Regions from separate parts of the Homo sapiens genome. Here regions 1, 2 and 4 are each linked to region 3. The links are contacts of gene promoters, found by promoter capture Hi-C in blood cells and fetal thymus (Javierre and others, 2016). All regions are on one chromosome and are shown on one strand. The core of a region is centred on a gene start or on the middle of the fragment in contact, and the rest is flanking DNA. Distances in the headings are between cores, read along the strand shown.

What was found. Contacts are between HindIII fragments. The CHiCAGO score rates a contact against its expected background, and 5 or more counts as called.
Region 1: a contact is called between the fragment with the promoter of CSNK1A1 here and the fragment with the promoter of SAP30L-AS1 in region 3, in 1 of 17 cell types (neutrophils). The highest score is 13.4, in neutrophils.
Region 2: the fragment with the promoter of RBM22 here is called in contact with the fragment with the promoter of SAP30L-AS1 in region 3 in 1 of 17 cell types (neutrophils); the score reaches 7.8 in neutrophils.
Region 4: a contact is called between the fragment with the promoter of TCOF1 here and the fragment with the promoter of SAP30L-AS1 in region 3, in 1 of 17 cell types (activated CD4 T cells). The highest score is 5.2, in activated CD4 T cells.

What each region holds. Positions count from the first base shown.
Region 1 is chr5:149,549,875-149,553,008 of GRCh38, reverse strand. CSNK1A1 (casein kinase 1 alpha 1) reads left to right here and starts at 1,570. Exons shown (of 10, transcript NM_001892.6): 1 at 1,570-2,167; 2 at 2,828-2,934. The coding sequence starts at 2,045. It also overlaps a transcript of ARHGEF37 not described here. RefSeq lists enhancers at 993-1,062, 620-1,413, 1,113-1,782, 1,813-1,872, 2,003-2,062 and 2 more. The HindIII fragment of the contact is 4,606 bases long and covers 1,254-3,134 here.
Region 2 is chr5:150,699,464-150,702,324 of GRCh38, reverse strand. It overlaps RBM22 (RNA binding motif protein 22), which reads left to right and starts at 1,263. Exons shown (of 11, transcript NM_018047.3): 1 at 1,263-1,393; 2 at 1,828-1,881. The coding sequence starts at 1,340. RefSeq lists enhancers at 468-1,244, 1,245-2,021. The HindIII fragment of the contact is 2,219 bases long and covers 1,169-2,861 here.
Region 3 is chr5:154,444,450-154,447,351 of GRCh38, reverse strand. It overlaps SAP30L-AS1 (SAP30L and GALNT10 antisense RNA 1), which reads left to right and starts at 1,530. Exons shown (of 3, transcript NR_037897.1): 1 at 1,530-1,614. SAP30L (SAP30 like) reads right to left here and starts at 1,355. Exons shown (of 4, transcript NM_024632.6): 1 at 547-1,355. The coding sequence starts at 747. RefSeq lists silencers at 712-821, 952-1,481 and enhancers at 1,058-1,558, 1,612-1,731. The HindIII fragment of the contact is 8,481 bases long and covers 1-2,902 here.
Region 4 is chr5:150,356,268-150,359,241 of GRCh38, reverse strand. It overlaps TCOF1 (treacle ribosome biogenesis factor 1), which reads right to left and starts at 1,545. Exons shown (of 27, transcript NM_001371623.1): 1 at 1,388-1,545. The coding sequence starts at 1,495. LOC105378226 (a long non-coding RNA gene) reads left to right here and starts at 1,822. Exons shown (of 4, transcript XR_944407.3): 1 at 1,822-2,736. RefSeq lists silencers at 1,118-1,337, 1,418-1,757 and an enhancer at 2,358-2,527. The HindIII fragment of the contact is 5,465 bases long and covers 1-2,974 here.

The sequences.
Region 1 (3,134 bases), core at 321-2,820, 4.9 Mb after region 3:
CTGAGTGTTGGTTGGGCTTTAAAAACTTCATGCTAAACTTCAGGGGAAGTCTCCTCCCCTCTCTCTTCAGTTGTCTTCCGAGATGAACCCTATTACTAATTACTTGACCACCTTTCAAAGTTGCAGTTAAAATTCTTCACATTTTTCTCCCATTTCTATTTAATTAATTATTTTTTTTTTGAGACAGGGTCTCTCTGTTGCCCAGGCTGGAGTACAGTGGCGTGATCTAGTCTCACCGCAACCTCCGCCTCCCGGGTTCAAGCGATTCTCAGACTCCCGAATAGCTGGGGTTACAAGTGTGCGCCATCACACCCGGCTAATTTTTGTATTTTTAGTAGATACGGGGTTTCATCATGTTGGCCAGGCTGGTCTCGAACAACTGACCTCAAGTGATCTGCCCGCCCCGGCCTCCCGAAGTGCTGGGATTACAGGCGTGAGCCACTGCGCCCGCCCCCCATTTCTATTTTAATTAAATTTTATTTAGGATAGGCTTAGCTTAAATTTTTACGACTGAGGTCTGACTTAAGATGATAGCATCAACCATGGAGTTTTCTTTCGTGAACATTATTATTACTAAGCCCAATTTTCCCAGGTCAAATTTTGTAAAACAAAACGTGGTCAAAATTTGATTCTCTGATCGATTTTTTGTAAAAAAGAAAAAAATTACCGTGTAGTTTTAAATGTTGTCAATTAAATTTTGTAATAGTTACCTCTACTCTGTTCAGGTTAATACTGAGGTTTTCAACAAGACCAACATACGATTCTTTTTTTTTTTTTTTTTTTTTTTTTTGGTGGGGTTGAGGGGACATAACAGTTTTTTCACTCTTGTTAAATTAATTTTCTGTTGATTCCATCTATCCTTAATCTTCATTATGAGCAACATACCAGGTTTTCTTCTGAAGATCATATGTGGTAGTGAGGCAATAATGCAAAGACATAGGATGGCAGGGGGATTCCGGCTTCTTTCTTTCTTCCCCTCCTGTGGAAAGAGGGTCTATAACACTCCGTAGTAGATAGGACAATTCTAATTATGAAGGGTAATTAGCTAGGCTCTGCTACAACCGAGAGCCCTGAGAGATTCCTCGACGCTGGCTGCTTTTCTCTTCCTCTCCACCAGAGGCGACAGCCTCTTTCCAAACAGAAACTGGGTTGGAATAGGCCGGTCCGGGGGAACGGCCAGAAGAAAGATCAAAGGTTAAAAACCGCCTCAAAGAGCACAGGTCAATACCCAACTCCTAAGGAGGCCTTAAGCTTTCATCTGCCACGAAACATGAAGGTGACTCCTCCCAATATCAAGGCCGGGGGGCCACTCAGCCTTCCAGAGACCCGGCGGGTCCGAGGCGAGTAACAGGTAACACCTGCTGAGCCGCCGCCGACCGGAAGTGGAAGAGAGCCCGGGACGGGGGTGAGGACAGGCCGCGGCACGCCTGCGCAGTCAGCAGGAGTTGCAGCGCTCATGCGCAGCTGGGCGGTGACAGGGTGACGCTCGGAGCGTGGGCCGCGACTCTCACGGATCCGGTTCCGCCCTCTCGCTGCCGATCCTTCGGAGCGAGCGCCCGAGATCCCTTTCCCAGAGTGCTCTGCGCCGTGAAGAAGCGGCTCCCGGGGACTGGGGGCATTTTGTGTTGGCTGGAGCTGGAGTAACAAGATGGCGTCGTCCGCGGAGTGACAGGGGTCCCTCTGGGCCGGAGCCGGCGGCAGTGGTGGCAGCGGTATCGCCGCCCTAGCTCACCGCGCCCCTTTTCCAGCCCGCGACGTCGCCGCGCAAGCGAGGCAGCGGCGGCCGCCGAGAAACAAGTGGCCCAGCCTGGTAACCGCCGAGAAGCCCTTCACAAACTGCGGCCTGGCAAAAAGAAACCTGACTGAGCGGCGGTGATCAGGTTCCCCTCTGCTGATTCTGGGCCCCGAACCCCGGTAAAGGCCTCCGTGTTCCGTTTCCTGCCGCCCTCCTCCGTAGCCTTGCCTAGTGTAGGAGCCCCGAGGCCTCCGTCCTCTTCCCAGAGGTGTCGGGGCTTGGCCCCAGCCTCCATCTTCGTCTCTCAGGATGGCGAGTAGCAGCGGCTCCAAGGCTGAATTCATTGTCGGAGGGAAATATAAACTGGTACGGAAGATCGGGTCTGGCTCCTTCGGGGACATCTATTTGGCGATCAACATCACCAACGGCGAGGTAATCATCTGGGGTGGGGTTCACGATAACGCTGCGCTTTTACTCATTCCCCCCACCACCACCGTGCACCCCCAAAGTGCTCGGGCCTCTCCTCATCGCACGCACTCGCCAGGGAGTCCAGGGAGCTAGTTTTCCTGGCTTACGAACCTCGTCCGCTGTCTCCCTAAAAGGGTCAAGAACCCGATAGAAAGGTTGGGGGAACTAGTTTCCCACCTTGTTAAACACGTCCCATAAATGTCCCTTAGTCGAGCTTTTTTTTTTTTTAACCGTCTTTTAAGGTGGAAACGGCAAAATCCTCTTTCAGTGATTCCCATGTTTTTTTTTTTTTAATTCTTAATTCTACTGGGCCTCTTGTTCCAATTAGAACAGTTTCCGATCGCCTAGTTCCTTAAAAACCTCTCACTACGTTCAGAGGTTGCCTCTTTTTTCTGGATGAATCATTTTCCTGCACTTTAGAGGACGTACGGATTTCGTCACTACCCCCTGAAGAGGCCTTTGAGGCTGGTTGCCTCGTTTTATAATTACCGAGAGCTTTCTCTTTCCAGCTTTTCACTTCTTCTTGTAGTCGCGACTTGGAGTTTTGCTAATGTCTCCCTCCTTTCCTAAGTGACATTGAATCCGTAGGGATGTTGATGCCATCATCCCCTCTTTCCCCTGCAGGAAGTGGCAGTGAAGCTAGAATCTCAGAAGGCCAGGCATCCCCAGTTGCTGTACGAGAGCAAGCTCTATAAGATTCTTCAAGGTGGGGTTGGCATCCCCCACATACGGTAAGAACCCGGTGCATATAGGCGATCCGCTGAGGGAAGCACGGAATGGGGAAGTGGGTAGAGGCAGGTAATGAGACCAGCTGAATCCGGGTCTTGGTGTTTTAGTTACCTGGGTTCCCTATAGCTGGTGGTTTCCTGTAAGTCAGTCATCTCAATTACTGAGTAAATTTCAGTTTGCCAACTTATTTCATTGTATTACA
Region 2 (2,861 bases), core at 14-2,513, 3.7 Mb after region 3:
ACAATGGAATTCTACTCAGTAATACAAAGGAAGAAATTATTGATACATGTAATAATATGGATGAATCTCAACTACAAAATACTAAGTGAAAAAATATCAGATCCAAAAGGATATATAGGATTCCACTTATGTGACATTCTGGAAAAGGCAAAACTAGGGACAGAACACAAATTAGTGATTGCCATGGTTTGAGTATGGGATAAGTGGACTAACTACAGAAACAAGGGAACTTTGGGGATGACAGACAATTCCATATTTGACTGTAAGTGAATGTATGTACAAAATTCAAAACTAAAAAGGATAAAACTTTATGTAAATTATACTTTAAATCAACTTTTTTTTTTAATGAGGTGATTTAAATAAATGTGTTAGGTAGCTTGATGACACGGTAAGTATGAAAGTGGTACCAGAATGGCTTGAAACTCATAAAATATTGGCAGAGTGGTTATGAGTTATTCCAAAAATCAAATAATGCATATGTTGATTCGTAAGACCCTTGTCATTTCAGAAGCTGGAAATGAAACAGTACTAATGAATTTGTGGCTTCACCACTTTTTAGCTCCACAACCAGGAGCTATATCAGGAGAGATTAGGTTAATCTCTCTAAACCTGTTTTCTTTTCTATAAAAGAGGGATCATCATACTTGCCTACAGGGTAGAGTTACCAGATAAAATACAGGACGATTGGTTAAGTGATGTGAATTTCAGGTCAACCACGAATCCTACTTTAGGACGAGTAGGTACCATATATATTTATAATTAAAAAGCGATTCGCCGTTAATCTGAAATTCAACTTTAGACGTTCTGTAATTCGTGCGTGTGTGTGTGTGCATGTGTGTGTGTGAGTGACAGAGAGAGAGAGAGAGAGAGAGAGAGAGAGAGAGAGACAGAATCAGAATCTGGCAGCCCTACAGAGAGCCCTACAGAGAGGTTATGCGAATAAATAAGACACTGGAACCGCAAGACGTTCGCCCAGAGTTTGGCATAATAAGCGCCTCAGTGGTAGCGAACGCTATTTTAACCCCAGCCTCTGATGCATTACGTCTTCCTTTATTCTTTCGCCCAATTGTTAAATGAATCAACTGTACGTGTGGCCCTTCATTCCAAGCAGGCAAAAACTCGAAGGAAGCATCCAGGTGCATTATACCAGGACCCCAATTGTTAAGCTTAGAAATTCCAAGAGCGGGCGACGTCATGACGCAAAGGCCCCGCCCCGGAAGAAGCCCTAGACGCGTAAATAAGACGCCGACCGGCGCGGCGCTAGCCTCGGGGCTTGACGGGATTGTGGCGGTCCTCTCTCCCAATTCGGAAGCTACAGCTACCTCCGGACGCTCTCAAGATGGCGACCTCTCTGGGTTCCAACACCTACAACAGGCAGAACTGGGAGGATGCGGTGAGTGTGCCTGCCGGAGGAGGATGGAAGGAGGAGGCGAAGCCGCGCACCTTGCAAGCTGGCAGGACAGGGCCTGCGGCGCGGCCGAAGGAATACCGGGGAGGAGCCAGCGCGGCGGCCTAGCTTGGCCGGAGCAGGAGGGCGGAGGGCGATCCTCCTGCGGGCTTGAAGGGAGGGGGCTTAGCCAGGGTCCCGGGACCAGCACCCTTTCCATCCCTGCCCCCTCCAGCCTATTAGAGCTGGTTTTCTTTTCTCCCGCCGCCTGCCGGAAGTGCAGACAGCGCCCCCTCCCGCGATCGGGTCGTGATGGACTTCGGGTTCCTGCCGTGCCTAGTTCCCCACCCTCGCTTCCCGCCCCCTCGCCACCCCAAGTGTCACTGAGGTGTCAGGGTCTTCGGAGGGTGGTCCTCAACCAGATTTCCCATTTTCACCAGGACTTCCCCATTCTGTGCCAGACATGTCTTGGAGAAAACCCATATATCCGAATGGTGAGTGATCGCGTGTGAAACGAGTTATTCATGTCCTGTCGATGTTGTGGTACTTGCACACTGTGAAGTGTTTCTCTTAGACAAGCAGAAAAAATGATGCTCTTTTACTAACGCGAAGTGCTGGACGACTTGCAAAGAACTGTCATGTGTATTCTCTTACGAATCCGGTAACACTCCTGTAATGTAGGGGTAATAACGATAGCTAGTATTTGTTGAGCATTTACCTAGGAAATAGGTCTGTTGACCAGAAGGTGAGAGCGTTTGTGTCTTTTCATACAATAGTAAGGAATGGAGCTGGGATTTAAGTTCACATATTCTGGCTCTAGGAATGTCAGCATGATAGGAGGAGAACCAGAACTAGAAACTAGGTTTCCTGAATCCTGGTCAAATGCCTTTTGGCCAGTGTACTTTATCTCTTTAAAGTAAGCATTCCCCCTTTGTTACAAACTAGGGTAAAATTAGAACCAGTTAACAATAATAAGGTTAGGGCTGTATTATTGTGTAGTCGTAGAGGTGTTGATATGTTAGTATGTTCACGATGTTTGAATGGTTCAAGATGTTTGAATAGTTCTGTTTAAACAGAACATTTACTATATTCCGGGCATTGGCACAGGACAAGTCTACAGTAGCTACCTTTTGACTAAACTTTGTAAAGTGGGCGGGCCACAGCTGTATCCTCTCTGATTTAGGGATTGTGGAAAGCATTAGGAATGTTAGTTCTTGGGAGTGAACTTGGGAGCCAAAAATGAACCTAAGAGTTGTGGCTGTGGAAAGACACTCACTTACCTAGCATTAGATGCATATACTCTATTTCTTTTTTCTGTAGAGACAGCATCTCGCTATGTTGCCCAGGCTAGTCTGGAACTCCTGGGCTCAAGCAATCCTTCCACCTTGGCCTCTCAAAGTGTTGGGATTACAGGCGTGAGCCACTGCCACCCAGCCCAGATCCATATACTCTTGAGATGTTATCACTTATAATA
Region 3 (2,902 bases), core at 281-2,780:
AGACCTGGCCTTGGCCTTATTTCTGCCACATCCTAGAAAAACCCATTCCCACAGCTGCCTGCGAAGCAGCTAGCTCGGTGACCCTCTGCTGATACCGAGGATGCGGGAGCCAGGGAAGTAACTGCCACCTTTCTCTGTCTGAAGGAATAACAGGGTTCCTAGAAGGAGAGAGAAGTTGGAAAAGAGCCGGGTATCTTCATCACTCCCCGCTCCGATTCTTGCTCCTTCAAGGGCCAACAAAACTAACCCACCTCTCCCTGCTCTAAAGTCTAAACCAATAAAACAAGTTGGAAACTGCTGTCCAATCTTTCCAGGCAGCAGGAGTCCTGAAGCCCCCGCCCCCATCCTCCCGGATCTGGGTAGAATCACAGTCAGAGCATGTCAGCGCTGGAGCGGCCTTTGAAATGCGGAGTCCAACTCAGTTCTGCAGAGCCGGGGCGGCGAGGCCCACGGCGGGGAGTGCCCGGGGAGTCCCGACTGGAGCCCAGGGCAGCGGACGGAGAGCTGGGGGCGCCGGGGCCCAGACGCGAGCGGGGGCGGACTCACGCTCTTGTCGATGTCCAGCTTGAGTTTCTTCTGCGAGATGCTCTTCTGGACCCTCTTGCTGAAGGAGGCGTTGCCCGCGGGCCGGACGCAGCGCTCGCCGTCCTCGATGAGGCAGCAGCTCTGGCCGTAGCCCGGGGCGGCGGCAGCTGGGGCGGCGGGGGGCCCTTCGCGGCTGTCCTCCTCCGTGCTGAAGCCGTTCATCTCCCCGCCCCGGGCCGGTCCCTCTGGGGGAGGGTCCCCGGTAGGCCACTCCGCGGCCGCGCTTGCCGCGGGGCAGGTCGCTGAGACCCCCGCAGCCGAGGGTCCCAGAGTCCGTCTCCAGCCCGGGCGCTGCCCTGCCCCGCGTCCGAGAGGCCCGGCTCCCTCGGCCCCCGGCCCTCCGCCTCCGGAAGCCCCCTTCCTCCCGGCTCGAGGCCCCGGGGTCGGCTCCCGCGGCTCGCAGGGCCCCGCCGGGGGTCACCCGGAGGAGCCTTCTGCCGGGGGCCCAGAACCGTAACCCTGCAGCGGGGGTGTCCGGGAGGGCGTCCCAGGAAACAGCCGCTCCCCAAGGACTCCGGGCCTGGGTTGCCAGGGGGTTTCGAAGGCCCCTGCCGGCTCCCGCCTTCTTTCGGCAGCGGGGCAAACTCGCTGCCGGGCAGCTCCCCCGGGGTGGCGCGGCCTCCTCGCGCGGGGCCCGGCCTCGAACCCGCGGCACCCGGGCCCCGCGGCTCGTCCGGCCCACTCCACCCCTGCAGCCACTCGGCTGCGCCCCGAGTCCCGCGGCAGCCCCTGGGCCGCCCGGCCGCCGCCCGCCGAACGCTCCGCACCACAACAGTTCGCTCCCCCCGCCCTTCGCGGGACAGCGGAAGTCCCGCCTTCACGCGACCATTGGTCTCATTTGCTCTCTGGGCGGGGCTGCCGCCGCCGCTGGCGCGTCCCATTGGGCGTCGCCGCCGCCAGTCTCCGGCGCCAGGCTACTTCCTGGACTCTGCTGGGATGGGTTCAAAGTAGAGAAAGTGGAAGAGGAAAGAGTTACCCCAGCGAGAACCGGGAACCGGGCTGCAGACTCTCCGGCCCGGGGGAGGGATGGTGAGCAGGGGCCTGGCTGGACCGAGGGCCAGACTCCAGGAACAGAGGAACACATTCGGGGACAGACAGTAGAGACGCGGACGGGGACGCTGAGGGACAGACTTGGAGGAGGGGCATATGAGGGGACCTAAAGAGGATAGAGGTGCTATCAGGAGAGGGGCGGACTAATAAAATGAAAGGGCCAGGGCCAGAGGACTCGCGGATCCGTGGGAGGAAGGGTGGGTGAAATAGGACGGAAAGCCAGTCATGGCGGGAAAGACAGAGGGACAACCCCATACAGATACGTGGAAAGACATGCGGAGGAGGTGATGGGGGGATCTTGCAAGGCAGTCGCAATATTGGGGGTAGCCGATACCTTCCAGAGTGTGGAGAGTGGGACTGGCTTGGACGGCGCGGAAAGAAAAGGAGAGGGGGAAAGGAGACCCCGAGGGGTTTGGGCGACCCCTCCACTGGGAAGAATGGGAAGTCCGAATGAGGTCTGGAGGGTGGACTAGGTGAGCCGCGGGCAAGAGAAAGGGCTTCAGGGGAGATGAAGTGAAGGCTGGGAGTGGGGCCCAGGGGCCAATCTCGGAATCTAGATGGGGAAGGGCTGCGGTGTCTTGGGCTCTCCCTGGAGCTCCAAGCTGTAGTTCTATTGCTTTGAGTCCCCGGGTCTACCGGCGAAGCGACTGCGCCCTGCCAAGACCCTGCGCTTGGTTTCGGCGCCCAGGGCACCACCTCCCCTCCAGGAGGGGCCGTAGGATATGCTCTGGTCCAGCACTTCAGTCATGCCACTCTCCAACTGCGCAGCATGGGGACTGATGAGGTCCGAAAGGCGATGGGACCAGCCCAGGGTCGTGTAATTATGTAGGGCTGGGCAGCGTTTTATGGGCAGGGAAGAGGGGAGGCTGTGTTAGGTGATAGGTAAGCAAGTGTTAGTACTAGAGGGCATAGAAGGAGCTTCGGGTTTGTGTCCTGTTGTAAAAGGGAAAGCTACCAGTTTCCATGTTTAGAAGCAGGTGGCTGGTGATCTTAAGTTTTGCTCAGTGGCCATAAATGCATTTGTAGCATCTGAACTGGTAATTTCACACGTGGGACAGCCATCGTCGGAAATAGGCCTATCAGAGATAATATGAAGTACAGTGATGTTCATTATGGAATTATTTATAATAGGAAAAATAAAATAGAACCTCAGAGTTCCAAAAGGGAAGTGGTTAAGTAAACTACCTAAAATCTTCAGAAAGAGATTGTGCAGTTAGCATTTGAGGTAGTTTCAACATCAATGTAAACATTTTCTATAGAGAATAAT
Region 4 (2,974 bases), core at 296-2,795, 4.1 Mb after region 3:
CCGAGTAACTGGGACTACAGGTGCATGCCACCATGCATGGCTAATTTTTGCATTTTTAGTAGAGACAGGGTTTCACCATGTCGGTCAGGCTGGTTTTGAACTCCTGGCCTCAAGTGATCCGCCTGCCTCGGCCTCCCAAAGTGCTGGGATTACAGGCGTGAGCTACCGTACCTGGCCTGCTATGGACTTAAAAAAAATTTTTTTTTGAGACAGTGTCTTGCTCTGTTGCCCAGGCTGGAGTGCAGTGGCATGATCATGGCTCATACTGTATCCTCAAATTCCTGGGCTCAAGAGAGTGGACTTTCTCCAGGCCAGTGTGTACACAAGTTCCCTCCCACCACAAGGCATTTACACCTCAGCTATTCCTGACCAGGGCAATCTGCCATCCATCTCTCTTTTTTTTTTGAGGCAGAGTCTCGCTTTATCGCCCAGGCTGGAGTGCAGTGGCACGATCTTGACTCATTGCAACCTCTGCCTCCCGGGTTCAAGCAATTCTTGTGCCTCAGCCACATGAGTAGCCAGGATTACAGGCGTGCGCCAACATGCCCAGCTAATTTTTGTATTTTTAGTAGAAACGGTGTTTCACCATGTTGGCCAGGCTGGTCTCGAACTTCTGACCTCAGGTGATCCGCTAGTCTCGGCCTCCCTAAGTGCTGGGATTACAGGCGTGAGCTACCGTGCCCGGCCCATCCCTCTCATTCTTAACACTTATTGCGGTGCTAAGCATATAGTCACTTTTGTGATTCTTTGATTTGTCTACCTTACTAGAGTGTAAGCTCCAGGAGGGCTGAGAGATGGTGCTCACCATTCGAACACCAGGAAGCACCCTGAGTACCGGATTAACAGTTGAATTAATCAAGTAAGAAATGACTGTACCACGAGTTCGAGTACCAAAGCTGACCGTCTCAGTACAGACAATCGCTAAAGGCCTGAGTTCCAGCTCAACTAAGAGGCTGTAGGGTCCCTTTTCCAGGCGCTCCCCCGAGGGGCTGGTCGCAATCCACCCCCGAGACTCGCAGCAACCTCCTTGCCCCAGGGGGGGCCGCGCAGAGCCTAGCCACGTGGCGGGAGACTTAGGAAACTTAAAATACCCGCTACCAGGAAGGGCGTGGAGGTAAGGGAAGCGGGAATTACAAAGTTCGGCCCCTGCGAGCACACTTTCTGGCCCAACCCACTGCCCGGATGAGGAAAGTGAGGCCCAGGGGAACTGAAGTCGCAGTGGGAAGGCAGAGATTGCGGCTCCTCCGGTACCCCTGGCCGCGCCGTCGAGCACTGCGGGACCCGGCTCCGGGCGCCTGCCGGGTCGCCTGGGGACGGGGCGCGGGCCGCGGGCCGCTGATCTCCACATCTTGCACGCGGCCCTCGCACACGGCCCACGAACGCTTACCTGGCCGCTCTGCTCCTTCACTTCCCGCGCCGCACGCACATAGCCAGCCCGCAGCAGATGGTGGTAGATCAGGGGAAGTAGCTCCCGCCGCTTCCTGGCCTCGGCCATACCCGCGACCCCCGGCCGGCCGGCTACCTGCACGCCCCGCCTTAGTCCCCGCCCGCCACTTCCCTCGCGCCCTTAGACCTCGCGCGCCACACTTCCGGCTCCTCTTTCGCTCCGGCCGCGCGGCGCGCCGGGAAACGTAGTCCCCTCTCCGGGAGTGGCCGGCCCCGCCCCTCAAGGCGAAGGGGGCGGAGACTCGTGATCAACAATACCGCCCATTGGCGCGGAGCATGCGGGGCTAGACAGGGACCCGCCCCCGGGGCCGGCCGGGACTTGGACGACTCTCTTTTAATCCTTCCGGCTGGCTTCTTGAAGAGATTTATCTTCCTTGTTAATTCTCTGATGGCTGGGTCTGCGTTTTACTCATCTCTGAACTCCCTAATCTGGATCTTTCTCTAGATCCGAACTTTGTACTGCCATTACCTGCTCATTTATCCATTTCGCACGGTTTTTGGTGCCCATGAACCAGACACGAATTGCCAGTTTATTCATTGATTCATTCGCTAACTGAACAAATCTGTAATAAGCACCTAACTTGGGCTAGCACCCGGCTAGGCTAGGGGGATTCAAAAGATGCATAATACATGGCAGTTGCCCTCAAAGCTCACAGAGACGACTGTCCGTAACCAAGCAACTATAGTTCAATATCTTGTGTGCCTTGTCAGGGACAGATGCAGCCTATGGGCGCCCCAAGGAGGAGCACCGAACCCCAGAGAGATATCTAAGCTGAGGCATAAAGACACCCGAAATTGCTGGGTGCAAAGGAGAGGACTGGCAGAGGGCACTGCATGAGTCTAGGCATGAGAAAACACCCTGCTATTGCCTGGGAACCCTAAACCCAGAACCCCTAGTCTGCGCTGCTGGGCTGTCCAGGTGGGGTGGGGTGAGGTGGGGAAGAGGGAACAAATGAGGGCACATGAGGATGAAGAAGTAGACAAGGCCTACAACTCCCCCACCCCCAACAGAGTTTGGACTTTGCTCTGAGGGCATTAGATAGTCTCTGACTGGCTTTTCCGAGGAGGTTGACCCTGTTTTGTGTTTTTAAAAGATTGCTAAAACCAAAGCACATACCATTAATACTAAATGTGAGGCTGTTGTAGTTGTTGAGGGAAGGATGGCAGGGAAAAGGTGAGGTAGGCTGGAGAATGTTAGAGTGAGCTGTTCTTAACTTCACCGACCCATTGAGAATCTGAGGGCAGCATGTTTCTTACGGGCGCAGGAGTCCCTAACCCTAGGAGGTCCAGGTATGTGGTTATCTTTGTCTTGAACTTGAATGGAAAATGTTATGTGTCTGTACACATTCAACATTTCCCATTTTCTTGAGCAAATATTTATTGAGTACCTACCATTGGGGATGGAATAGTCTCTACTCCTATAGAGCTTACAGTCTAGTGATGGAATTGTCTCTACTCCAATAGAGCTTACAGTCTAACGGAGGAGACACATACTAAACTAATAGTCATACAATACAGTGTTACAAAC